Regions from separate parts of the Homo sapiens genome. Here regions 1, 2, 4, 5, 6 and 7 are each linked to region 3. The links are contacts of gene promoters, found by promoter capture Hi-C in blood cells and fetal thymus (Javierre and others, 2016). All regions are on one chromosome and are shown on one strand. Each heading gives the region's core, a stretch centred on a gene start or on the middle of the fragment in contact. The rest is flanking DNA. Distances are from core to core; before and after follow the strand shown.

Region 1 (4,254 bases), core at 1,737-4,236, 1.5 Mb before region 3:
GATAAACATTCCCAGAGGGAAGATGATGTAAAGCAACACAGGAGAATGCCATATGGAGATGAAGGAAAGGAACACCGGAAAACGCTGGCATCACACCAAAAGCTGGAAGAAATTCCCCGACAGGTTTCTGAGAGAGCCTGGCCCAACCAACAGCCAAAATCAACACCTTGATTTAGGACTCCGAGCCTCCAAAACTGTGAGACAATATATTTGTGTTGTTCAAAGCCAGTAAGTTTGTGGCACTTGGTTACTACTGGTCCAGAAAACGAAAAGAACACTGCAGGTTTACCGCTCCTTGTGTGCACACACTTCCCAGCCGCCGTGCTGTCTAACACGAATCTATACACTGATGTGAAGGGATTTGGAAGACATGAAGTCCAAAATCGACTGACTTTAAAATAGGGAGAGTATCTGGGTCTAATTAATGACTTGACCCCACTATGTGAGGATGGAGGGATTGAGCCATGCGTCTGCAAGAAACCCGAGATTGTTGGGAAACCAGCAGCCAGGAACGAAGAGAAGACAGGAACACGTTCTCTTTCACAGCCTTCCGAAGGAATGATCCCTGCCAGCATCTTGATTTCAGACTCCAAGCCTTCAAAACTGTGAGAGATTCAGTTTAGGTTATCCTAAAACACCCGATTTATGGTTCTATTCATGGCAGCCCTAGGAATCTAACACACCATGTAAAAGTGGATCTGTATCCATTGTTGTTTATGTACAATGGAATGCTTCTCAGCCATAAAAAGAATGAAATCTTGTCTTTTGCAGCAACCTGGATGGGACTAGAGGCCATTATCTTCAGTGAAATAACTCAGAAACAGAAAGTCAAATACTGCATGATCTTAAGTATAGTTGGGAGCTATATAATGTGCACACACGGACTTAGAGAGTGGAAATACAGACATCAGAGACTCAGATGAATGAGATGGTGGGATGGGGGTCAGGGATGAGAAATTACTTAGTGAGCGCAATGTACACTATTCAGGTGATAGTTACACTCAAAGCTCAGGCTTCAACACTACACAATGTATCCAGGTAGCAAAACGGCACTTGTACTGTCTATATCTATAAAAATATATTTTTATATATAAAAAGTGGATCTGTTTTCATCGAAGCCAGTTCTGGAGCTCAGCAGACAAAATTATTTTTCCTCATTCCTACCTCACATCCAACCCTTTTTGTTCCCTGAATTTCTCAGAAATATATTTGAGAAACACTGGAGTAAACTGTCTTTAAAGAAACCTTTCCTTTTTAAAGCTTCTACCGTCAATAACGTCGTGTAACAGAGAATAACACAAAAGCTTTCTGGAATCTATTGTAAAGATTTATGGTGTTATTCTAACTAGATTAGCCAAAATACTGTGCAAGAAGTGTGTGTGTCTATTTATAAAAATATGTGTACATTTGCCAGTTGAACCTTGCTCTATTATGGTGGAAAAAGGGATTATTCAGACGATTTTTGATACAATTTTAAACTTTATCTATCCATGGGCGAATCACTCTCCTGAAATCACACAACCTCCTTCCCTTCACCGCCCCACAATGACCATTCATTGTTTGATACAGAATATCTTCTGTCCTGGTCTCCATTGTATTCATGATTAAGACTGGATATTTCAGCCTAAAGAACGTCAACCCAAGAACCATACTCTGTGTAATTTGGAGAAAATTTTACCATCTGAAAATGAAGATAAAGACTACCTCATGTTAAATGGCTGTTTAACCCCAAAGAAACACATGAGATGTAAAGAACATCAACCCAAGAGCCAGACCTATGCAATTTAGGGAAAATTACTTCTACATTCATAATTGTACCATCTGAAAATGAAGATAAAGACTACCTCTTAAGTTAAATGGCTTAATATATGTTTAACCCCAAAGAAAAACACGAGACACATATTGTCTGATGAATATTAGCTATATTTGTGCTATGTAAATGTTAAATTTATCTGGTATTGCTTAGTAGTTTTAAAGCATATATGGTATCAAACTATATGTGTATTTATCTATTAATTTTTTATGCATCAATATATAAGAACTAAATTTAGCACGATTCTCTATTTCCACAAATTTATTTAGTATTTTTAAATCCTGTAAAAATTTTAATTTAGAGTAAATTTGTTACTGAAGTACAAATTAGGTAAGATATATCATTTGGTATTAAAGATTGTATTTTAATCTTCTGTTTCTAAACACACTGGTGAAGTGGTTAGAAGCTTAGGGAGATAGGATTTATCAACAGCATCAAGTATATGTTTTCCAATGGGAGAAACGGTTTTCATTCATTCAGGCTACTATAACAAGCTACAATAGACTGGTAGATCTTTTTCATTCATCAATGTATAGACCAATTTATAATTTCTCTTAATTCCAGAGCAAATATGAATGTTTCGATTGAGATTACATGAATAACTTATATGTATGGGCCGGGCACAGTGGCTCACACCTGTAATCACAGCACTTTGGGAGGCCGAGGCAGGCAGATCACCTAAGCGCAGGAGTTCAAGATCAGCCTGGCCAACATGGTGAAACCTCAATTCTACTAAAAAATATATATAAAAAAAAAATTAGCTGGACATGGTGACATGGTGGCATGCATCTGTAGTCCCAGTTACTTGGGAGTCTGAGGCATGAGAACTGCTTGAACCCAGGAGGTGGAGGCTGCAGGGAGCTGAGATTGTGCCACTGCACTCCAGCCTGGGCAAGAGAGTGAGACACGGTCTCAAAAAAAAAAAAAAAAAAAAAGTGTATACATGTATTTATTCAATCTTATTTTAAAATACTAAATAACTTCAAATTCCCCTTCCTTTTCAGAAGTGTTCTTTTTAATGATGGCTAATAAAATATTAAACCTCCATATTTAATATAGTTTTACAAAATAATATTCAAGTACTAAAATGTTCTTTGGCAAAGAGTTTCATTCAAATAATCAGTTGAATGTTCATTAAGCCTGACAATCTGTTTTAGTTCCAGTGGTAGAAGTTTTATCATGCTAACATGGGGTCAGTATTTTCTCTGTTGTGGTCCTTAACTGAAAAGTAATTTATTTCCTCATATTTCTTGTCATAAGTGGTATCATTTGTATTGCAGCATGACCTAAGCCAGGCAGGTTTTCAGTTTGTTTTACTAATAAGACATATTGCTGACATGTTCTCAGATCTTGTCTGACAAATGAGCTTAGTGAGAGTAGTAGCAAAACAAAGAGCTGATACTATTTTTCTTGCTTATTAGCTTCCAAACATCTCAGAATACAGACATAAAGTGAACTGCAAACTGCTCAACATATCTCTAATTGCTTTTGTGATGCTATTCAAGTGTATTAGTAGAAACTGCAGCAATGGCTATCTTTGGCCATTCTGAGTGCAGTTGTTTAAGGCTGGAAACCACAGAATCAATAACTACTAGACTTTTTATTTAATTAAAGACGAGAGAGAAATAGTACCTCCTGTTAAAAAGTGCCTTGTATTTCTTATTTTCTTTCAGTAAAAATCAACCTCTTGGACCAGCAGAAGGTCAAGACCTGCCCAACATGATCAAAATTAGAAAGTTTTAACTCATCCTTCTAAACTAAAATAAAAGGCAAAAAGATGCCTCATTCCTATTTAAGGATTAAATGTGAAAACTCAGAAGGTTATACATAATCTGAGAGAAGATAGCCCTCTACTGAGAACAGGTTGGAAATATATACTCTGAATATTGAATTTTACTCTTTAAGGCTGTCTGAAGTAAGAATGAGTGCGGATAGCTAAAGTAAGCTTATAGCAATTAAGAAAATTAGCTAAATATTAAAATCTAAAATAATTCTTACTTGTTTTATAAGACTAATTTAATTTCCTTGGAAAGTAGATATTACCATTTAGGGCATTTAAAAAATTAGTTCCATTAAGCTGTTTTGTTGCATGAAAATGATGCTTGAATTAGTTTACTATTTGAAGAATATTTGAATTTAAAACTACTTATCTTTTTACTTGAAAAAATGTAATATAGTGATTTGAAATTGCTTTTATGTAGTGAAATGTCATCTTAAAACTAACACGTAGATATAAATTAAAAGTAACACTCATAAGAAAACTAAAATACTATATATGTATTATTATACCTTTCCACCAAAATATTTATCTACATTGTTTAAAGTTTTATTTCTTTAATACTCAAATTCTTTAGAAGTTCATCACAAATATATTTTATTAAAATTTGAAATTATTGTTTTATGTCTTTAAACTTGTTTGAATCATTTTATTATTTTAAGAT
Region 2 (3,968 bases), core at 1,336-3,835, 1.5 Mb before region 3:
GGAATTCCAATTATAAAACATTCTAAAATTTGTTAATCTCAGAAAAGAATCTATCATTTTAAGAAATACACTAAAAGGACCAGTCGTAAGCAAAGAGCTCTGTTATTTAGTAAGTAGAAAGTGTAGATAGTGGCTATTTTTTTTTTCCTTTCCAGCATGAAAAAAGCAAAAAGCAAAACAGGAACAGTGAGACTATTTAATAAATATGGCAGAAAAATCGAAATATAACATTAATCTGGAGGCTCAGAAAAGGACCCTACCTGTGACAATGGTTAAAACAGAAATTAGGAAATATCAGAGGATTATGTAGCATACCTGAGGAGATTTATGAAGATATGACAATTCAGAGAAAAAAAAACCCATAGTTTGAGACCATAAAGTCAAACAAAAGTTATTATAAGTGAAAACTGGAGAATGAGATCTCTCTTTAATATTGAAGCAAAAATGTTAAAAACAAACAAACAAGCAAGGAAGCTAAAACTGAGTGAACAGAATTAAACAATGTATGAACAAGATCATATATTATGACTAAGTGTGTTTTATTCCACAAATGCAAAGTTGTTGTAATTTAATAATTTTAAGAAGAAAAATGTAAGATCATCTCTATAAATGTAAAAAAACCTAACACCCATTTCAGATTTAAAAGAAGAAAAAAAACTTTCAGTAAAGGAAATTTCCTCAATCTGATAAAGACAATTTACAAAAAAACCTACAGCTAACATTCTACCTAATGGTCAAATACTAAATACTTTATCCCTAACATCTGAAAGAAGGCAAAGATATCCTACATTCATCACTACTATTCAACTTTGCAGTGGATTCTAGCCAGATAAATAAGACAAATAAAATAAATTAAAGGCATCCAGACTGGAAAGAAACAAGTAAAGCATTTGAAGTTAGCATGTCCTCATGGAAAAACTGGGAATTTACCCAAAAGAGCTATGAGAACTAAGTGCGTTTAGCAATGTTAAAATATAGAAAATCAATATAAAAAGATCAAGTGTATTTCTGTGTGCTTGTAACAAAATCATGAAAATCGAAATTAAAACATGCCATTTAAAAATGTGGAATACCTAAATCTGATATGAGATGTAAAAGACCTATTCACTGAAAACTACAGAATAGACCTACTCATATAAGGACAACTGATTAGAAGCCAAGACAATGGAGTGGTGAGAGGATAGTATTTTTATAATAGTGCTAGAACAATCAGAATATCTATATGAAGAAAGGATGAAATTTTATCCATACCTTGTATTCCATAAAATAACTCACTTAAAATGGATCATAGACCTAATGTAAAACCTAAAAATATAACATTTCTTAAAATGGTTAAAAAAATTTGTGCTTTTGTCTTAGGAAAATTGTATTTTTCTTTAAAAATAATTGAACACCATTACCTCTATCTAGTTCCAAAGTATTTTCATTACCTGAACAGAAAAACCATACCAGTTAAGCAGTTGCTCCTCATTTATTTTCTCCTCCCCCCAACCACTGGTAACAACTAATCTGCATTTTGTCTTCATAGATTTTTCTATTTTGTATATTTTTTATAAATGGCATCATATAATATGTGACTTTTGGTGTAAAGCTTCTTTCACTTGGCTTAATATTATCAAAGTTCATCCAGGTTGTATTATGTATCAGTACTGATTTGTTTATATAGTTGAAAAATATTCAAGTTATATAAACTATATATTCAACTTATATAAACTTTCAACTATTCAAATATTCAACTTATATAAACTTCAAACACTCAACTTATATAAACTATATAAACAAATATATTTTCAACTATATAAATAAATCATAGTATGTATAATTATAATTATATAAATATTAACTAATGTAACTAATATGTAATATTAACTATATATATTATTACATAGTGATATTCACTATATATTATATAATTACAAGTAAAACGTAATAGTTTTATTAACTTTATATTATATACCATAATTGCAATATATAGTATATAATTATATATTACATATATTAGTTATAATATAATATGTATTAGTATATATAAAAGTATATATAATTATATATAATATGTAATATAACTATAATGTACAATATATAATTATATTATAGTTGTGTATAATATATAATTAAATATATTATTTTTATACTATAAAATTTTATAAATATTATATATGTAATTACATATATAATTATGTTTTTTCATCATCTGCATATACCACAGTTTATCTGTTCTCCTACTAAAGACCATCACGGTAGCGTCCAATTTTTGGCAATTATGAATAAAGCTGCTATAAACGTCCAAGTACACGTTTTTGTATGCATTTAAGTTTTCAAACCCTTTTTGTTGGAAGGAGCACAATTGCTAAATTGTATGGTGAGAGTATGTTGCCAAGTTGTCCTCCAAAATGGCTGTATCATTTTTTATTCCCACTAGCAATAAAGCAAATGATGCATTGTTCCACATTTTCACCAGCATTTGACAATATTAGTGTTTAAGTTTTTGTCTATCTAATAGGTGTGCGGTGTTTCTTACTGTTGTCTTAATTTGCATTTCCCTTGGAAATGCTATTTTTAGCATATTTGAGGCACCATCAAACTCTTTTCCACAGCGGCTGCACCATTTTCCATTTCCAACAGCAATGCACAAAAGTTTAAGTTTCTCCACGATCTCTATGTTTTATCATCACCATCCTGGTGAGTGTCAAGTCATACCAGATAGTGGGTTTGTTTTGCAGTTCCTGATTGTCTAACGATGTTGAACATCCTCACATATACTTGTTGGCCATTCATTCACGTTTCGAAGAAATTTCTAAGTCCTTTGACCATTTTATAAATTTACTTGTTGTCTTTCTTGTTGCTGAGTTGAAAGTGTTTTTTTGTATATTCTGCAGCGTTCAACCTTATCAGACAGGTGACTTGCAAATATTGTCTCCAAATTAGTTGGCTACTTTTTACCCTCTTGACAATGTCCTTTGATGTACAATGCTCATAATTTTGATGAGATCCAATTTATCTATTGTATCTTTTATCTATAATGACTTAGTTTTCATATCAAAGCATTCATTGTCAAAGCCAAGGTCATGAAAACTTAATCCTGTGTGCAAGCATGTGGGCTAGGAACTCAGAGATGCATAACAGCATGGCTGACCATTAGAACCTGAGTCCTTGACGACAACTCCCTTGAAATAATGCACTGCATTGGCTGTGCATTGACACTGATGTTGGGAGGTCAGCTTTCTCTCAGAGACCTGTCAGACAAAGTCTTTTAATTGCCTATGGTCAGGCTTGCAAAATCATATATAGAGTTCTGGTCAAGAGTTAAGCTGAACTCCTCAGATTTGAGCAGATCTCTTATCAAAGAACATGTTTTGGTGCAAATAAGCACCTTAAAAATGTGCATTGTCATTAGTCACTGGAAAAATGCAAATTAAAACCACACTGAGATTCCTCTATATGCCTAATTGAATTGCTAAAATTAGAGTGACTAAAAAGTTTGACCATACCAATTACTAGCCAGGATGTAGTGGAAGTATAAATTTCATACACTGTTGGTGCAAATGTAAATGGTGTAATCACATTAGAAAAGAGTTTGGAAGCTTGTCAAGAAAGTTAAACAATTATTAATACTTACCATATGACCCAGTCTTTCCACTTTCAGAGACTTGCCCAAGAGAAAATAAATCATATGTCCATACAAAGTTATCTACAAAAATATTCATAGCAGTTTTGTTTGTAATATCATAATCTAAACATAACTCAATATATATCACTCAGAGAATAAACAAATTGTTGTATACACAAATAATAGGTTACAACTCATAAAACAGGAATTATTGAATCACATAAAAACAGACAAAAAATGGGTATACTGTGTGATTCTAGTTTCCAGTGATTAAAGGGAAATTTTTGAAAATGTCACTATTGTATAGTGACAAATATCAGATCAGTGGATGTCTAGGAAGGAAATTTAGGGAGAGATG
Region 3 (3,874 bases), core at 154-2,653:
ACCTTCACTTACAACAAGTGAAAAAAATGAGTGATATATAAAAATTGGTTCCAATCTAAAATATTAGAATCACATGCAAATATTCAGATATCTGAGTTGGACAGTTAAAATAATATTTTAAATATATATATGTATACTCACGATTCATCTAAATCTTCTACAAATCCTTTACAGACGACCATATCAAGTACAACAACTGAAAAAAAAAGACAAAATGTACACAATAAATGCTGATTATTTGGCTCATACCGTATAAGCTTAGTCATCTCTGAAGTGTTTTTGACCTTTCACAACCTACCAAAAAATTCATCACTGATGCATCCCAGGGTGCAAATGATGCAAAAGCAAAGGTAGTTCATCCATTTAATAAATATTTAGTCTGTATGCAACCATATCGTGACCGGCCAAGTTCTAGGTAAGCCAATAAATCTAATACACACAGTTCCTTTTTCCTCCATATTTTCACTCTCATCTTACGTCTCTTTTTAACCATCCTATCTTTTTGGAATACAAATAGACAGCATTCTTCTTTATTTCTTTTGCTTTAGTAGCAATTACCTCTTCCGTAAAAACTCCAAATGCCATTCAAAATATTTCCCCTCAAATAGATACGTAGGAAGAAAGTCGAGCTGCAACTCTAATACTTATTACACGGCAGTGCCTGACACAGAGTGGGCTCTAAAAGGTTGTTAAGTGAGCGGACCCCAGTGAGAATGAGGGCACTCCATGCTGACGGGAGGCAGCTGAGAACCGCTGACACACACTCAGGTCCTTTTCACACCGCACAATCCCGGCGGCCTGACCCTGATCTGTCCTCGACCACCCTCTCTTGAGTACTGGTGGTAAAAATCCTTAAACGTGACAAGACTCGGAACCTAAAGCCAAGGCAAGATTTGGTCGTTAAGCTGGGACGGCGGCATCCTTCTTGCCCATCAAAGGAGTAAGCTTTATTGAAACTTCTGCCACAATGAGAAAAACACAAACACAAGGCAGCGCGCCCTTCCCACGTCCAGCATTGGTCCGGCACAGCGGCGGCGGAAGGACCCCAAGGTGTCCGCTCCGTCAGGGCCAGGCAGGGTGGCGCGGCGGGGGCGGCAGGACGCTGCCGGGAATGGGTGGGCATCTCCACGAACCCCGCAGGCCTCGCCCCAGACCCGGGTCCAATCCCGGCCCCACGGCGGGGCCAGGTCCCACGCGCCCGCCAGCGTCCCGACCGCTGAGCCCCCATTACCTGTGGCGCAGAGCCGCAGGGCCGTCCAACTCTTCCACGCTGCCATGCTAGCCCGGGAGAGCTGCAGAAGCTGACTGTGCAAAAGAGGGATAAAGACACTGGGGTCCGCCGCCTGCCCGCCCGGAAAGGGAAACGGAGCCGACCCGGAGCGGAAGAGAAGCACCGCGCTAACTACGGGGGCGGGGCTACCCGGCCAGTCTCCGTCTCCGGCTATGCGCGGGAGTGCGGCGCATGCGAGGGGAGTGCGGCGCATGCGACAGCGCCTGCGCAGTCATGTCTTAAGAATCCTTTGCGCTCTCGGTGCCCCCCTCCACGCCCAGGAGCGTGGGAACCCTGCTTAAGGGCTTTACTAGGGAAAACGGTGCTGGTTCACTGGGGCGCGTTTCCGGGAAGGTGAATACCGGTGAAAGTTATGCTGAGGGTGAGGTAGGCTCTGACGACGCACTTGCAGGTTGAATACTGGCACATCATTTACTTGTTACTCCCGTGTGGTGAGTGCACCTGTGGGTTTTGATGCTGGATCAAATTCCTGGAAAGAGGCGCGCATTAAGACTGCGGATTGCTGAGCTGCGCGACACTCCGTATTTTTCCAAAACGTATTTGTAATATTCTTTCAACCTGTTTGCATAATGGGACATCTCTTAAATGCAGCAAGCTTTAATGCATTTTTGCCAAAGTAAGGATTGCCTCTTTAAAAACTTTCTCTTGAAACTTGAGAACATGAAGTTAAGCGTAGGATATTTTTTGATGGCTCTTTTCTGATTATTTTGGAACTAGATAAAGTAGTATGAAATATTTATATTGCTACCTGTTTTTTCTTCTATACGACAATGATTTGTAAAAACCATATACTTTTATAAGACGGTTACTGCAGCAATCACTACTTACGAACTAGATGAAATTTTTATGGGACATAAGGTACCAGAGAATTTAGATCAAACCAAATTTTGAAAACCTGTGACAACAACAGAAGGGGGATATGATGTCAGCCGGTTCACCTTAGGTTCAAAATTCCAACAGGCAAAAATGTCATAAAACGTCGTTATTCCTAGTGACTAGAAGATTAAATTGCACTCTAATTGAGAGCAAGCCCTAAATGTCACCCCCTTTGTGCATGCAGCATGGTATCCAGCGCAAGCCCTCTACAGATTCAATTTTTCTTTTTCTTTCTCTTTTCCTTTTTTTCTTTTTTTTTTAAGAAAAAAGTAGACTAAAACGTAAGGGGACTGTTGAAATGATGGGAATGTTCTCCCGGTGGTGGTGGAACAGCTTTATAATAGTACCATCGCCTCGATACTCTTATACAGAAGCTTTTCTACTTTCTTGGCAAGGTCTCTGAATGACCCATATTCAATTTTTTTTTTTCATTCTCATGTATTTCAAAGTTTTCTGTCTTCCACAGCATGCAAAGTGAAATAATTTCCTCTTATATTTGCGTTACAGTTTAAGTTCACATGTGGACAACAACAAAAGCCAGTTGACCTAGATCTGTGCTTTTCAGTAGTGTAGCCACTAACCACATGTGGCTATTGAGCTTTTGAAATGTGCCTAGTGTGATGAAATAACTGAATATTTATTTTTTTTAATTTCAGTAAACTCAAAAACTGACACTCGATTCAGCTATTGGAAAGTTTTTTTAATGTGGTTGGAACAACTGAGGTATGTGAATCTACTTTTTCAACTGTAAATTTTATGAAATCTAAATACTGATCAAGTCCCAGGCATGGGTGGCTCATGCCTATTATCCCAGCACTTTGGGAGGCTGAGGCAGGAGGATTGCTTGAGGTGAGGCGTCTGAGACCAGCCTGGTCAACACAGTGAGACCCCATCTGTACAAAAAATTAAAAAATTAGCCAGATGTGGCCTGGCGCGGTGGCTTACACCTGTAATCCCAGCACTTTGGGAGGCCGAGGCAGGTGGATCACGAGGTCAAGAGATCGAGACCATCCTGGCTAACACAGTGAAACCCCGTCTCTACTAAGAATACAGAGAATTAGCTGGGCGTGGTGGCAGACACCTGTGGTCCCAGCTACTTGGGAGGCTGAGGCAGGAGAATGCATGAACCCAAGAGGCCGAGCTTGCAGTGAGTTGAAATCGCGCCACTGCACTCCAGCCTGGGCGACAGAGCAAGACTCTGTTTCAAAAAAAAAAAAAAAAAATTAGCCAGATGTGGTGGCACACACCTGTGGTCCCAGCTACTCCAGAGGCTGAGGTGGGAGGATAAGTTGGGCCAGGGAAGTTGAGGTTGCAGCGAGGTGTGATCCTGCCACTGCATTCCAGCCTGGCAACAGAGCAAGACCATGTCTCTATAAAATAAATACCAATTAAGTATTTCTGATGAAATTAGAGACGTTGTAATGAGATGTACTATAAATGTAAAATATACACTGGATCACTGGATTGGGGAGAAAGTATAAAACTGTAAAATGTCTCAATATTTTTTACTGATAATATGTTGTGATGATTATAGCTTAGGTGTATTGAGTTAATTAAATTATTAAAATTAATCTCACCTGTTTTTATTTTTCAGTGTAGCTACTAGAAAATTTATAATTATATACTTGGTTTGCATTACATTTCCGTTGCACATCACTGATCTAGGCAATGAGAAAATGATCAAAATAATGCATTAATCTGAAAATG
Region 4 (4,068 bases), core at 715-3,214, 1.7 Mb after region 3:
GTTGCAGTGAGCCGAGATCATGCCACTGCACTCTAGCCTGGGCGACAGAGTGAGGTTCCATCTCAAACAAAACAAAACAAAACAAAAAAACTAAAATAATAATACTACTAAAAAAAGACAATTAAGAGAACATTAAAATTATACAGTATATGAAAGTATTGGAATACTGGTTAAAGAAAATAATCTCAAAAACCTTCCCCAATTTTATTTTGTTATTTCATTAAAATGATTTTATTTTACTGGAAAAAATGTTATTGGTCAATTCATCGATGAAAGTCCCATGGAGCGGAGGCTCGCGAGATGTCAGAGGTGACACCTGCTGTCCTGCTACCGTGGAGCTGTTGCCTGAGCTGAGTTCTGGAGACTCTGCTGGCCCCACCTTCCTCTGAGATTACGGATTCAGGTTCAATGCAACACAGTGCAACATATCTTTCTAGAACACGACTCTGCCCAGGACCCTTAAGCTTGAAATTGAAGAGCTAATTTTCCCCAGACAAATAAAGCAAATACTTGACGTGATAGCATCTCATTTCCTGCAGGTCTGAGAGATGGATCGTGATGCTGGGATCTAAAGGCAACACACTTATCAGAGGAGGCAATGTGTTTGCTCATCCATTGAGTTGGCTAAAAAGGATGCTTAGGATACAAGGGGTGCGTTTACTCAAGATGCTATCTAAGTAATTGTCTATTGGTAATAAAAAAATAGCTAGAAAGAAATTAAAATTAATTCCTCCAGGAATATCTTTGGTCTGAGAGCAATAAATGTGTCAAATTACCATCTGTAGTACAAATGTCAGCGATCTGTTTGTACTGTTATTGGTGGATACTATAATTCCCAGACCCAAGTAGAAATAGGGATTTTGCAGCTGGCTAGGTGCAATGTATTTAAATTTGTTTTGGGGGTTAATCTGGAGAATAGGTGTATTGTTCTTTGTAAAACAATTTAATGGTAATAGGCAAAATGGCAGTGATAAAGTAAGGAACACAAGAGGACACAAATAAAAATAGGGAGACCTCAGTCAGGCATCTTTGCTGGGATGACTCCACATTACAAGTATAGAGTTACACACACACACACACACACACACACACACACACACACACACACACAGAGTTGCCTGATGTGGCAAAGAAAAATCCAGAACGTCCTTCCCTCTCTGAATTGTTCCTCCTATGTGCTCCCTGGGCTCTCATCACTCTGTCTGACCCTGTTCAGTTCTCTTCATCCGTCAATGGACTGTAAGTTCATTCCACCAGTTTATCCCCAGTGTGTTTCACTGCGCCTGGCTTAAGTCAGATATTCAGTTAATATCTGTTGACTGAATGGATGAAAGAGTGAGTGGCACAGAAAACACACTCACGCTTGAGGATCGCACAGCCGTGTGAAGCTGACTGTGGATTGCACTGAAGAACGAGGCTGGGATAGTAGAGATGCCCAAAGGAGGAGACTGTGAAGGCAAGCCTGGATTCTGCCCTGCAGCCCCTAGATACCAGGGCTGGTCCTGGGCACAGGAGAGACAGGTGAGCATTGATGTTTCAGAAAGAATATTCTTCCAGCAGCATGAAGGGCAGCTTATGGATAGGTGAGGCGGGAGGCACGTGGGAGATGAGACAGAAGGGTTTGTGCTTTATAATCTGAGTTGGAAGTGTGGGTGTTTCTTCTCTGTGGTCTGTGGGTTTCAGTATTAGTTATATTCTGCAGTTGAAGATGACAGTGATTTAGAGCAGGGTTGACCCTAAGTCTCCCCTGCCACCTCCCACACCAGAGCCATATTGTCACTGCTATGACCCCGACCATAGGAGGGGCAGAAAGACTTCGCAGGGTCTCAGCTGAAGGAGGTTTTGGGTGGAAGCGGCCAGAAGGCACCTGTGTTAGAGCAGTTAATCATTAAAAACACACACTAATGCTCCCTTAGAATATAAATGGTGTATGTTAGTGTGAACAGCTAGGAGGGCAGAGGGTGAGTTACCTGAAGAAGAGGAGGACACAGAGGAAAGAGCTGTGACCCCAGTGACTGAGAAAAAAGGTGCCGAGACAGCTGCGGCCGGCAGAGCCCGCGGGTTCTAAGATTCCTCTCCACTCAGTTGCTAACTCCTGCCCCACTCCCCACCTCCCACAACAAGAAAACATTCTTCAAGAGTAGCTGGTGCCTGTGATTTCTTTCATAAGAAGCAGAGTCTTTAATTCTGCATTGGAGATTAGAGGTTTACTCTAAAAGGTCAGCTCAGGAGACTCTTGAAAACAGCTCCAATCTAAATGCAACCAGTTCATAAATTCCTGTCCTATGGAGATAAGTTATCGCAGCAAATCCAACCACAGGCAGTACAGCTCCTGAATCATCAGGGAGAATTAAAAGGAGATGATGAAATGGGTAGCTTTTAGATTAATACAACGGTATAAAACCCAGGGAATGAGAGAATCTTGAGACTGTTATTTTCTGTATCTGCCATGACAAACGTTCCTTAATTCTTTAAACACTCATTAAAGAAATGAAAATTACTTTCTCATTCTCTAAAAACAATTAACAAACTTGTAGAGGGGAGAGAGTCTGGGGGAATGGGAATTGAAGATGAAGGGATGGGGGAAACGTCCGCTGGAGAAAAGCGAGAGACACACGTTTTACCAGAAATTGAGCGCTTAGGATTTTTGGCATTGCTGTTATGAAGACAGGAAGTTCTGATGGACATTTATTAGGATTGCCAGATAGAACACAGGACGCTCAGTTAAATTTGAATTTCAATTAAACAACCAATAGTACATGAGACAGTTGCATTCCATATATTTCTTGGGACTAAAAACATCATTCCCTTCCAGGAGAGAGTGATGTTGCACCATAGCAGGGGTTAGCAAACTATGACCTGTGGGCCAAATCCAATCCTCTTCCTGTTTTTGTAAATAAAGTTATATTGCAACACGGCCTGCTCATTCATTTAAATATTGTTCATGGCTATTTTCACAGCATAACAGCAAAATTGAATAGTTGTGAGTCAGACCGCATAGTCTTCAAAGCCTGAAATAATTACTTTCTATTCTAGTGGAAATCAGGAGTTTTCTAGGTATAGAAGTTTAGGAAAAAACTGTTTCTGGTCCTGAGGTTTCAGAAAACATGACAAATAGGAGGATGCAGGAAGTTTGGTGAGTGGGGAGAATTATAAGCAGGAAATTTAAGTGGGGATCAGCTTTTTTTGTGTGTCTGAGACAGATTCTTGTTCTGCCACCCAGGCTGAAGTACAGTGGTGAGATTATGGCTCACTGTAGCCTCGACCTCCCAGGCTCAAGCAGTCCTCCCACCTTAGCCTCCCAAAGTGCTGGGATTACAGACAATGAGGCACTGTGAGTGGTGGGGTCAACTTTGGAAGGGTTTTGTAAACCATTTTAAGGAATACCTTTGCTCTTTCTGTTTAATCTTCCTAGAATAGTTTTCCTCTCAACATGCCTGTTAAAATCTTATCCGTTCTTTGAAGCAAGCTTTAATCTCACCTTGAGCATAAGATTTTTGGTAAGAATATTTTTGCTCATTGTTCTTTTTATTTATCAGTGCAATAGTACTTATAGTGGGTTATCATTAGCTGTTGCCCTTACGTAACAGAAAAGTTCTTTTTTTTTTCTTTTGAGACAGAGTCTCACTCTTTCACCCAGGCTGGAGTGCAGTGGCATGACCTCGGCTCACTGCAACCTCTGCCTCCCATGTTCAAGCAATTCTTCTGCCTTAGCCTCCCGAGTAGCTGGGATTACAGGTGCCCGCCACCACGCCCAGTTAATTTTTGTATTTTTCGTAGAGACGGGGTTTCTCCATGTTGGCCAGGCTGGTCTTGAACTCCTGACCTCAGGCGATCCACCTTAGCCCCCCAAAGTGCTGAGATTACAGGCATGAGCCACCATGCCTAGCCAGAAAAGTTCTTAAATGCAGAAATTATTCGTCTCCATAGGTACTAAAGTGATTAAGGTAGTTATATATAAGTAGATGTTCAATAAATAAATATTGAATAAATATATATAGTGATGGGCCTACAAGAGTGTAAGAATAATTACAACATTGTTTGACTACAACAGTTGAATGCTTCCGC
Region 5 (4,111 bases), core at 403-2,902, 1.5 Mb before region 3:
TCTATATTTGAAATTCATCGTTTTACTTAGGATCAATCTGATAAATATAATTCAACATTTATAATTATGTCACATATTTGTCCATAAAATCCCATGAATGTACAATCCAATAAGCTCAAATATATCTAAAAATTATATTCAATCTAATTAATATTTTAGTAGAATTTTATCCTTCCATTTTATCCTTTAAAATATTTCAAGTGATGTAGTATTAATCTATTTCTTTTCATTTTTAGATGGTTTGAGGTTATCTGTTACTATCAGTCATAGAAAATTATTCATAACATGATGATTCTACTTAATAAGATGTAAAATATAATAAGAGGGTAAAAAATTTGCTTAAATGGATGTAAGACAATAATTTCATCTTACCAGATTTGTTCAGTATTTAAACAAATTTCATATGAAACATGCCATTTTATTTTTAGGTACATAGAACAGTTTCTAAAACGAAAAGTATAATCCCACCATCCAAAAGGAAAAATTAATTTATGTTGTATAATAGAAGAAAAATAATATCATAAATGTTATGTCACATATAAAATGATAAAAATGAGAAAATTAGATAATTATTTTGTTAACTCATTTCAATTCTGACTTGGGAAGATGAAGACAAATACAGTTGTATTTATGTGCTGAAATATGTTGTTTTTTATATAACAGGTTATTAATTGTACTTCTGAGAAACATTTTTGGTTTTCCAGTGAGACAGTGAACTACTTCCTTATGCCAGGAAAGTGTGACAACAAACCAATGTCATTTGTCTGCGGAACAGTAAATAATTAGGTCCAGAATGTGGCAATTTAGAATATTTCATATAGAGGTATCAGAAATATAAATGCTTTGTTAAAATGAAATGTTACTTCTTTAAAATTTAAGATTTTATGTCTACTAAAAGTTTCCTGAGTTGTCATTTTGTGATGTTTGGCTGTAGTTGTAACTTTAACAAATGGAAACTCTGGATCCTGATTAACATAAATATTTTTCCCTGGGCTTATTTTTGTTTATATATTTCTGTTGTGACTATGCGACATATAAGCACTAGATCAGGACTATGAACTTGGAAGAATTTTTTTTATTGCATCTCATTGACACCATATATTGTCATTTCTAAGGCTAATTTTAAGAATTACCATTCTTTAATGATAGAATTAGACAATAGTCTTTTGTGTGGGTGAAGTATTTTATTAACAACTTAGCAATAAAAATACATAATTATGTCCTGAGATAATTTTTGGTAGGATCAGGAAAGATATTCTGAATACAAGATGGCATATTTGACAAGTATATCATGCAAGTGAACAGAAGGCTGGAAGTCAGATTGCTGGCCATAGAAAATAGTACTGACTTTGGAATTCTCTATGGCTGAGTGTTTAAAAGCACAAGCTCTAGAATCAGAAGGTTAGGGCTCAAATCTTGAATCAAACATCCGATAGCCATTTAATCTTGAGCAACGTATACCAAACTGAGCAAGATAAAACTTCACAGTCATTGCACTCAATTTAACTTAACAGAATATTGCACCCATCCAAATAGAACAAATTCTTATAAAAATCAAAGATTACTAGTATAGAAACCACAGCTAAAAACAAACAGAGTGGAAGAGCAGAACAGACACAATTGAAAACTAACCCGGGTATATCAAGCAGAGTAAATCTGGAGCACAGAAGAAGTTGTTAAAAATAGAAAACAGAAATATGACATCTGGCTTTCATAGAGTACTAGATGAGAAAAATGGAACAAACGCATTAAAATTATTATTTAATAAAAAAAAAAAAGAACAGGAAAAGAACCAGGTACCAAGTCAGAAGTGGCCCTCCTGCTTTATACCTATTCATCAAGATTGTATTGGCTCTTCTTGGCATTATCATGAGTATTTTAGAACCAGCTTCTACATTTTCCCCAAAAAAATGGTTTGGATTTCAAGTGGGACTGCATTATGGGATAAATCAATTTGGAGAGAATTGATACATTTACAATGATCCCAATTTACAACACTTGAATCTTACAATCCATGAAGATGATGTATTCCTATATGAATTTAATTCATATTTAAAGGTTTATATTGTCAGTGGATAGCCCTTGCATATTTTTTGTTTTCTTAGAGATTTGATGCTTTGATGAAATTTTAAATAATTTAAAATTGCTCTAATTTGCTCTAATAGAGGAATCAGTTATGTAATCATTTTATCCAGTGAACTTGATAAAATTGCTTATGATTTTTTAAAAATTAGAGGTTTTAATATGTTGTACATACACAATTGTATCTCTGCAAATAGTAACATTTTTCTTTTGAGCTATGATGCATCTATACTTTTATATATTTTTATATATTTTTCTTTATATTATCTCAAAATTTTCAAATTATTTGTTTTTTGTTTGCTTGTTTTTGTTATTTCATCTCTTTGGCTTACTTGTTTGGCTGTTTGCTTTATTTTTTTTTATTTGGTGGAAAAGAATGGAAGTCTAAAGCCTCTTTATTTTACTTTTTAACTTGAAAAATAATTTTGGTGGGTAAAAAATTTTATGTTGCAGGTTTTTTGTTGTTGTTAGCACTTTAAGGAAGCTGTTTCACTGTCTTTTAGTAACTGTGTCTTCTTTTGAGTACTCTACTATCAGTCTTGTTTTACTGCCTTTGAAGTTAATATGTCTTTTTTAAATGCTTTTAAGGTTATCATTGGTTTTTAACAGTTTCACAATGAGGTGCCTCAATTATCTTTGTACTTTTTCTAAGCGGGATTCTCTGAGATTCTTGTTGTCATCAGATTGGAAAAAATATCCATCAATATTTGTTCAAGTGTTGCGTCTGAACTCTTTCTCCTTTCCTTTAGAGATGCTGATCAAAATTATGTTAGAACTTTCCTTTCACTCCTGCCTTTCTCTTATTCTATCTATATATATCAATAGATATAATGTATATATGTGTGTGTGTGTGTATACACACATAAATTCATGTATATAAAAGAGAGGGGACAAGGGAGGGAGAGAAATATTAAGAAATAGAAGGTCTAGACTTAGACCTTCTTATGTATTATCTCACTTAGACTTACAACAAACTTGCAAAATAGGTATTATTAACCACTTTTGACCGACAAAGAAATTTGAGGTTGTTAAAACCTCCTAGGCTTGTCTAATTATTATTGAGGAATCTGGGATTCAACCTAATACTTGTTGACAATTCCAGGGACTATTGTAAACACAGGAGGAAGTAAAAAATATACAAAAGCAAGTATCAAATTTTATTGATAGAATGTTTTGTGAGTTATAAAGGGAATATAAACACATATGTATTCAAACACAAATAAATTGTGTGTGTATATTCAAGTTTTAAAAGGTAGTTTCAGCTTTACATAATAGTATTACGACTTAATAAATCAGTAAAAATTATTAACACACTAAATTTTTATTGTAGACTTTCACCAATTTATTAAACTCTATTAAGGGGAAAGAGGAAAGGTCCTAAAATGTCCTTAATTTCACAGAGAGCATTAGGATTATATCTGTGCTATAGCTGATGTATAGGCTTCACTTTAGTTTGCCTTCCAGATAGGAGGGGGAAGCACAGAGGGGAATGATAGCTAGCAATGTTGTATTAATACTGATCCTGATTATTGTATTTCCCAATGCAGCTCTCATTTGCTGAATTAAAAATTATCTAATAATTTAGATAATTAGCTTGCATTTCAGATGAACCCAGTGTCCCTTTATGAGACTTTTATTATTTTTGTTGTGACAGTGATTATGGTGATGTTTAACATTTGTTTTTCTCTAACTAAGTCACAAATACTCAGCAGCTGACTTTTAAAAGTGATCAGTATTTTACATAGAAGATTCAGGGAAGCACTGGTTCTTGAATCTCTGATTTGGGCCTTAGATATGTCTCCTTCATGAAACAAAGGCCTCTAGATACTAAATAGACTCATGAGATATTCCAAGCTGCATCTAGCTGATAGATGTTAGAGAAAGCCTGTAGTCCTCTCTATGGGCTTCGCAGCGATTCACTATCCTAAACAATTATGATTTTATTTTTAGTATTTGGTGAAGTAACAAGAGCAAAAGATTAATGTATATTCAATCTCTACAGTATTTTAACAAGCCAATTAAACCAGAT
Region 6 (3,709 bases), core at 543-3,042, 1.7 Mb after region 3:
TCTGTGAACTGTGGGTTTGTACCCCCATCTCTCTTTATATTGGATAGTTTATCTCTTTCTTATTTATGTATCACCCTTTGTGGATTCTGGACACTCTCTTTAAGTATTGCATATATATATATATTTTTTGAGATGGAATCTCACTCTGTTATTGCCCAGGTTAGAGTGTAGTGGTGCAATCTCGGCTCACTGCAACCTCCGCCTCCCAGGTTCAAGTGATTCTCCTGCCTCAGCCTCCCAAGTAGCTGGGATTACAGGCACCCACCACCAGGCCTGGCCTTGCATATATATACATATATATATATTTTTTTTTTGTAGAGATGGGGTTTCACCATGTTGGCCAGGCTTGTCTCAAGCTCCTGACCTTGGATTAGCCCCCTACCTCAGCCTCCCAAAGTGCTGGGATTATAGGCGTGAGCCACCGCACCTGGCCAACGCTTGCCTTTCTTTAAGTATTGCAAATCTTTTGTACCAGTTTGTGCTTTTATTTTCACTTTGTTTGTGGTGTCTTTTGTTTCATGAAAGTTTTAAAAATTTTTTATGTTGTCAAATACACCTTTTTTATCATTTGTTGTTTTAAAGAAATCTTGTTTGAAAAATCATTTTCTACCATAGTCATAAAATCTTGCTCTTATAATTCTTTTAAATGTTTTAATGGATTTGATTTTCATGCCTGGCATTTTAGTAGGCTTTGAATTATTTCTTTATATGATGTAAGTGAGGGATACAATATTTTCCATATGGATGACCAATTTTCTCAGATTTATTGAAAAGACTGGTATGTCTCCAGCCTCTCTGAAACACTGATCTACTTAGTACTGCCTAGTACTGCAACAAACTCCCTCTCCTAATTGACTATGGTTTTGTAATAATCCTTATTATCTAATAGGCAAGATCTTATCCTTCCCCGCCATGTTTTGTCTTTAGAAATGTCTTTGCTCTTCTATATTAAGAATAGACATGTTCAGTTATAAGAAAAACCTTGCTTACAATTTTTAAAATTGGAGTTTCACTGATTTTTTAGTAAAATTCTAATGTATCTATGTGTCTTACCATTGAATAACATGGATTACATCTCTACTATTCACAATCCTTTATTGTGTGTCCTTCAATGATATTTTTAGTTTTTTCTATAAAGGTCTTGTCCACTTTTAAAGAGATTTATTCATTTGAATCTTATAGTTTATGTTATTTCTTTTTCCTCCTTTTTTTCCTATTATAGTTCAGGCTTAGTTATAAAATAATTGTAAGTTTAAAAAATAAGCTTAAAATAAGCTTAATTATAAAATAATTTATTTTGTTATTTATTGATTTTTCATTTTTGCTTTTTTGAGACAGAGTCTTGCTTTGTTGCCCAGGCTAAAATGCAGTGGTGCAATCATGGCTCACTGTAACCTCGATCTCCCAGGCTCCCAAAATCCTCCCACCTCAGCCTCCCGAATAGCCAGGAGTACAGGCATGTACGACCATGCCCAGCTAATTTTTGTATTTTTTATAGAGATGGGGGTCTCGCTATGTTACCCAGGTTGGTCTTGAACTCCTGGGCTCCAGTGTTCCACCTGCCTCGCCTCCCAAAGTGCCAGGATTACAGGTTGAGTCACCGCACCTGGACTATTTGTTTAAAGTAGTTGCTGAACTCTTTGAATTGTTTTGCTTGCATTTTTCATGGTGACACATTTTCTACAAATTAGGAATTTTATAGAAATATTATCTCCAATCTTCTACTTTTTGTACCACTTATTTCTTTTTCTCACTTTAATTGCATTAGTGAGGTTAAGTAGAAATGTTATTAGGTATCCTTCATATGGGGCGTTCTTGCCCCTGAATTAAGTGGGAATGTGAATTAATCTCTTTCGTAGTGACGACTGAATGGGAAGGATCTTTGTACTCTTCCCATCCTTGCACTGTGGTGGTTAGAGATGTAGGAAGATATTGGAGAGACAAATAGAAAACATACCGTGAATAGGGCTTCTGGCAAAATTCCTCTTGGCTCCACCTGAGCTGGTGATCTCAGGCTTCCTGTATAGGACAACACATATTTTTTCATACTCACTAGTTGTTCATTCATTCATGATTTTATAAGATTAATAAATGAGCAGTTTACCTACAAAAAATGGCAGGCAGTGTTCATGAACTTGGAGGGAGGGGAATGACTACAGCCTACCCTGTGGGGAGGGAAGCAGAAGCTCCTGTGTCTCACAGCTGAAGGGAGCTTGGGATGTAACGAGGGATACTTGCTTCTCTCTCCTGGCTTAGTGGCCAGAGGTAGCAGTGTGTAAGTGGTTAAGCTCATGGCAGTTTAGGGTGCTCAAAGCTTCTCCTTTATATTTGAAGCTGAGTTAAACTCAGATAAACTGCACTCTATTGCCTAGGCCAGAGTGCAGTGTTGTGATCATAGCTCACTGCAGCCTCAGACTCCTGGGCTGAAGGAATCCTTTTACCTCAGCCTCCTGAGTAGCTGAGATTACAGGTGCATGACACTACACCTGGCTAATGCTTTATTTTTTGTAGAGACAGGGTCTCACCATGTTGCTTAGGCTGGACTTAAGTGATCCTCCCGTCTCGGCCTCCCAAAGTGCTGGGATTACAGGAGTAAGCCACGGTAAGAAGTAAGCCTTGGATCTTAAATGTAGTTTTAAAAAGCTGAACTCCGTGTACCTTTCCAAACTTCACAAGGAGCATCTTTCAAAATATGCTGATCTAAGTCCCTAATATAATTTGAATATTTACAATAGAAAATTATTCAATTAGGCTACTATAGTCATTTTTCAGGAGAAGTTAGTGATAGTATGATCAATAAAATTTTTGTACAGGATGCAATGTCCTGCTGAATCTATTATGCATTACTGTCTTTCCTTTGAATATGCAAAAAGTAAACAAATAGCATCTCTTTATGTCAGAAATTTAGACGTCCACAAAACCGCGTGGCTTCCTGGGGAGCTCTGCAATTTTTGCTTCATGAATGGGCAGGAGCCCAGCAAGTCCTGCCTCTTTGCTTCTGTCCACACTTAACAGACTGGCACCCTGAGGAGTTATTTAATTTAGAAAAGTGCTCCCAGTACTGCCTTCTACTCTTTATCTTAAATAGGCAAGTCTTCCTCCTAAGAAAAGACATCAGAAAAAGCTCCCTGGTGAAAAGAAAGCTTATCAACCACCGAGTCCCCGGGAGAAGCTGTCTCCTGCCTAATGGTAGGAATTATCTGTCTGAGCTTTCTGCTGTTACTGCAAGGACCCTTGGGCACACTCAAGCTTTCAAGAAGCTGTGCATCCTCTGCCCTGTCATGGGAACCTGATTTGGCTGTTTTGCTGAGTCAAAGCATTGGACACTGCAGTCAGCTCCTTCAAGTCGCTGGCTTTCCCCTTTGGATTGTTTCTTTCATCTTTACCCTCAAAGTCTCATCCATTCTTCAGTCTGTGCTCAAATATACCTTTGTCCTTGAGACCTGGGAAGCCTTCCTGTGTCCCCACTTCTCTCTTCTCACATTTGCTCTGTGTTATCTGTTTATACCTCTTGTTTTCATGGAACAAAGCTTGGGCTTTGGAGGTCAACCTTGGTTCAGATCCTGGCTCTGTGTCTCACTGCATGAAGATTTCTTCATTTTTATGATCCTGTATTTCCTCATTTATAAAATAGAGATAATAATGCCAAATGTCATTAAAAATGACACCATATTTGTGTAAAAAATAAATAAGTATATAAATCGTTTGA
Region 7 (4,005 bases), core at 755-3,254, 1.6 Mb after region 3:
GAGGTTCCAACTGAGAAACTTGTTTGAGGTCACACAGCTGTATGACCTGTCAAAACTGTGCTTCTGCACCAGCTCTGCCAGACTCAGAACCCCAGGGTCTTAACCATACATTTAAGTGTCTCCTAAAAGAGTCAACACTTCCCCATCCTGCACAGCCCCATTGCTGCGTGAAAGGCTCACTAACCCCCTGCTGCACAGCTCCTACTGGTTGTCATTTTAGAAAATATAGGGAGACACTGGAACTCCGAGGCAGTAGGATTGAAACGTTTGCTTCTTTTCTTTTTTTTTTTTTTGAGACGGCATCTAGCTCTGTCACCCAGGCTGGAGTGCAGTGGTGCGATCTCGGCTTACTGCAACCTCCGCCTCCCGGGTTCAAACGATTCTCCTGCCTCAGCCTCCTGAGTAGCTGGGATTACAGGCAGCTGCCACCACGCCCAGCTACTTTTTGTATTTTTAGTAGAGATGGGGTTTCACTGTGTTGGCCAGGCAGGTCTCGATCTCCTGATCTTGTGATCCGCCCGCCTCGGCCTCCCAAAGTGCTGGGATTACAGGCATGAGCCACCGTTAATTACTGTTTGTTGTGTTTCCCACTAACTTCTCTGACAATTCTATTTCAACCTACATTCTCCAATCACTGTAATTAGATATTTGAGAATTGTGTTGCATTTCAATCACGGTAACAATAATGGTAGTATTTTATTAATAAATTCAAGTAAAAACTGAAGATGACAATGATAGTGTATGATACATGACATCAACTTTGCATCACCTAAAGATCCAACTTTTCTGTTATGAATCTAGATTTCTTGGGGAAATCCAGATTGTATATTGGACATAGGAATTAAGATTACTGGACTTGAACTTTTTTGTAACTAACAACTTTATTGAGATATAATTCGGGTACCAACTCATACCTGAACAGCTTTTTAGACTTTTTTTCTAGCCCTTTTTTCTCTGTCCTTTCGGTTTTCTTTTAAAAAGGTCCATACTATTCAAGAAACACAACTTTTAAAGTCCACAATAATTCTCATTAGATTTTAATATTTATCTCCCCCCAAGCTTTACTGAAATACTAATGATATTCATTTTTTTAACCACTTTTCATCGTAAGAGAAATACAAATTTTCCTATTGATTCTTATGCACAAAAATCAAGTTTTTGTGGTACTGCTATACATTAGTAGTATGTTCAGCCAGTTTCCAAAGAAATTAGTCAAGATCCCAACATGCAACTTGTATACCACACTACCTTGGAATTCGGCGGCACAAACAACTATTCCTTGTACAAAACCTCCCTGAAAACGACTAAATGGAAAAGTGGATGGCTTGAAACAAGGAATGTTTGGTTTTTTAAAAAGCATTTTTCACAATTTAGTCGAGGTGTGGGGAGGGTTTCCCCACTTGTGGCTCTGCACAGCGTGCGCGCGCGTCTGTCCTGGGGTCCCCTCCCTGCGGGGACGAGGCCGGGGTCCCCGCGCGAGCCCAGCGGACCTGGGCAGTGCGGGGGTCCGACCGCCCGCCACAGGGGGACAGGGACCGCAGCCGCCAAATCCGCGGGGCCGGGGAACGAGGAGACTTTCCTTTCCGCGTTAGCCGGGGCCACCCCCGCCAGAGGGAAAGCACCAAAGGAAAAACCAGGACAGGGACTCTGGGGGCCGGAGGAGCGGCCTCCTGCAGGCACCAGCGGAGGGGCGCGGGGGTGGGGGAAGGGATCAGGGCTCCGCGCTCCGTCCGCCCCACGACCCCGGCCCGGCGCCCCTCCCCTCGGAACCCCCACTTAGTGCCCGGCCCCCGCCCCGCCCCGCGCGGCCCCCGGCCTCAGCCCCGCGCGCCCCGACGCCCCGCCTGCGCCGCGGGCCCGAGTAGTGGACGGGGGGCGGCCCGCTCGGCTCCTCCGCACCCGCTCCCCGCTCGGGCCGAGGCGCCGCGGCCGCGCGCCCCTCCTGGAGGAGGAGGAGGAAGGAGGCGGGAGGAGGAGTTGCCGAGAGGAGAAGGCGAGCGCGGCAGTCGCGCCGGCGCTGGGCGAGGAAGCGGAGCCGGGCCGCCTCCGGGTAAGCGTCCGGGGAGCTCGGGCGGGAGGCAGGGGCAGGGCTTCGCCGTCCGCCTCCGGGTCGCCCGCGGTCCGGGACACGGCTGGTTTTCGCCTCGGAGTGCAGGGGGCGGATCCGGCGCGGGCCGGGCCAGGGAGGCCGCCGGGCGCGGGGCTGCAGCGACGGGTCTGGGTCAGCGCGAGGCCCTGCGCCGTCTCGGCGGGTGCGCGGGCGGGGGCCAGGGCCGGGGAACGGGGGCCGGGGCCAGTCCCGGGAGCGGGGACGCGGAAACCGGGAAGCCGGGGCCGGGGCGCGGCGGCCCCTGAAGGGCCGAGGCCTGCGCGGCCGCGGACGGCTCTTCTCGACCCCTCGGCCTCTTCGGCCGCGGCGCGCCGGCCTGGGCCGCCGCCTTTGTTGCCCGCAGCTCGCCGGGGAGAGGCCGGGGCTCCGCGAGGCCTGGGCAGCGGCGCGGGGCCTGCGCGGCTCTGCGCCCCGGCCGGGTCCCTCCTCGGACCTCCGCGGGCTCGGGCTCGGGCTCGGGGTCGGGGCGCGGCGAGGCCGCAGGCGCGAGGGCGGGCCTGGGGCGCGGCGCTGGGACTCGGGGACGCCCCCGCCCCACCGCGAGGTCGCGCCGGCGCTGGTGGAGGTGCAGGCCGGGGCTGCTCTGCGGCTGAAGGTGCCGCCGGCCGGCTGCGCACTCACCCGGGTGTAGGGACCGGACGATTGTGGAATTTAAACCGCTCCTGGGACCGACACGGGCCTGAATTTTCAGTTTGCTTCGGGAGTTGGCAACTTCAGGTACACCCTTGTGGCTCACGGAGCAGAATTATGGACGTTTCTCAGGGGCAGATCCTGGCACAAAACTTGGGATATGTGCAGTAGTGTGTGTGCCAACTTAACGTTCAGTTGGAATGTGAAATTGGGGTTCCCATCCCCACTGTTTGGAATGAAGGGCCAGGTGGGAATATGTGGCGGGACTCAGTCTTCCGGTAGCAAAATAAATAATGTTGAATTCATTTCAACAAATGTTTCTGCAACGTCTGCCCGGATAAGGCAGCATGCACTGTGCATGAGGACAGAGAACACAGTAATGACAGAAATAACGTGAATTACACACTGAACGTCTCCCAGAGACATTTTAAATTTACTGTGTTCCTTGGGATAAAGATACATTTGGAATCAAACAAAAGTAAACGTTCTACTTCAAGATAAAATATCTGACATCTTCTCAACCACTGAAGGTAGCAATTTATCTTGACTTGTTTTTAACCAACTACCACAACATTAAATCCATTTAGCTTACTTGAATGAACGAATCTTAATTGTAATATTTAATGCTGTGGACAGCCTTACTTAAAAACACGAATGGCATTGCTCACCAGGTTTCACAAAAACCGGAAAAAAAGTCTGTAATACTTTTCCGTGGGCTTTCTAATTTCTCCTCCTAGTGGGTTTTGTGCACGCGTGGATATGGTAAGGTCTAGGATCCATTCAGCTCTAAATTAAATATGTGGCCTTAACCCTTTGGTTCAAACACCCTCCCTAAGCCTGCCTTGGTGCCTTGGAGGAACCTGGTTCGTGGACAGTGGATTTGATAAGGATTCCTAGAAGAACTTCTATCTGGAGTTTGGCCAGGGCTTTCCGCTTGTGCCTGGGTAAGGGTCAGCCAGGTATTCACCCGAATCTATACTTTTTTAGAACTCCATTCAGCATCTCTTTTGAAACACTGTTTCTCTCTTACCTTTATCGTTATCTTCTAAATTACCCTCTAAATTGGTAGTCTTGCCCCTTTCTCTTCAGCAGGGCCTCCCACCCAAGCGCACACCCTCGGGTCATCCCATGACCCCCTCTCTTGGTGGGCCCCCCACCCCGCAGGGAGTGGCAGGGAAGGAATTTGAGAGCCATTGACTGGGCGTAGGGTGGAAAATGGTGCTGTACTGACTGGGTTTCTAGTCATTTTGCCTTCCAGTGTTTTT

What was found. Contacts are between HindIII fragments. The CHiCAGO score rates a contact against its expected background, and 5 or more counts as called.
Region 1: a fragment that was not itself captured here is called in contact with the fragment with the promoter of TMX3 in region 3 in 15 of 17 cell types (naive CD4 T cells, total CD8 T cells, total CD4 T cells and 12 more); the score reaches 19.3 in naive CD4 T cells.
Region 2: a contact is called between a fragment that was not itself captured here and the fragment with the promoter of TMX3 in region 3, in 1 of 17 cell types (naive CD4 T cells). The highest score is 6.6, in naive CD4 T cells.
Region 4: a contact is called between a fragment that was not itself captured here and the fragment with the promoter of TMX3 in region 3, in 2 of 17 cell types (M0 macrophages and monocytes). The highest score is 9.8, in M0 macrophages.
Region 5: a fragment that was not itself captured here is called in contact with the fragment with the promoter of TMX3 in region 3 in 3 of 17 cell types (total CD4 T cells, activated CD4 T cells and total CD8 T cells); the score reaches 13.7 in total CD4 T cells.
Region 6: a fragment that was not itself captured here is called in contact with the fragment with the promoter of TMX3 in region 3 in 1 of 17 cell types (M0 macrophages); the score reaches 6.6 in M0 macrophages.
Region 7: a contact is called between the fragment with the promoter of SOCS6 here and the fragment with the promoter of TMX3 in region 3, in 7 of 17 cell types (M2 macrophages, erythroblasts, M0 macrophages and 4 more). The highest score is 9.0, in M2 macrophages.

What each region holds. Positions count from the first base shown.
Region 1 is chr18:67,219,944-67,224,197 of GRCh38, forward strand. No RefSeq gene overlaps it. Among named protein-coding and RNA genes, the nearest start is that of MIR5011, 140 kb to the left of the region's middle. The HindIII fragment of the contact is 1,539 bases long and covers 2,218-3,756 here.
Region 2 is chr18:67,184,038-67,188,005 of GRCh38, forward strand. No RefSeq gene overlaps it. Among named protein-coding and RNA genes, the nearest start is that of MIR5011, 100 kb to the left of the region's middle. The HindIII fragment of the contact is 1,993 bases long and covers 1,590-3,582 here.
Region 3 is chr18:68,713,705-68,717,578 of GRCh38, forward strand. It overlaps TMX3 (thioredoxin related transmembrane protein 3), which reads right to left and starts at 1,404. Exons shown (of 16, transcript NM_019022.5): 1 at 1,232-1,404; 2 at 142-196. The coding sequence starts at 1,277. It also overlaps a transcript of CCDC102B not described here. RefSeq lists silencers at 1,052-1,151, 1,332-1,461 and an enhancer at 1,662-1,731. The HindIII fragment of the contact is 941 bases long and covers 944-1,884 here.
Region 4 is chr18:70,417,447-70,421,514 of GRCh38, forward strand. No RefSeq gene overlaps it. Among named protein-coding and RNA genes, the nearest start is that of LINC01910, 35 kb to the left of the region's middle. The HindIII fragment of the contact is 3,005 bases long and covers 463-3,467 here.
Region 5 is chr18:67,204,877-67,208,987 of GRCh38, forward strand. No RefSeq gene overlaps it. Among named protein-coding and RNA genes, the nearest start is that of MIR5011, 130 kb to the left of the region's middle. The HindIII fragment of the contact is 6,959 bases long and covers 1-4,111 here.
Region 6 is chr18:70,437,816-70,441,524 of GRCh38, forward strand. No RefSeq gene overlaps it. Among named protein-coding and RNA genes, the nearest start is that of LINC01910, 55 kb to the left of the region's middle. The HindIII fragment of the contact is 1,039 bases long and covers 1,274-2,312 here.
Region 7 is chr18:70,287,041-70,291,045 of GRCh38, forward strand. SOCS6 (suppressor of cytokine signaling 6) reads left to right here and starts at 2,005. Exons shown (of 2, transcript NM_004232.4): 1 at 2,005-2,050. RefSeq lists a silencer at 1,841-2,740. The HindIII fragment of the contact is 7,416 bases long and covers 1,058-4,005 here.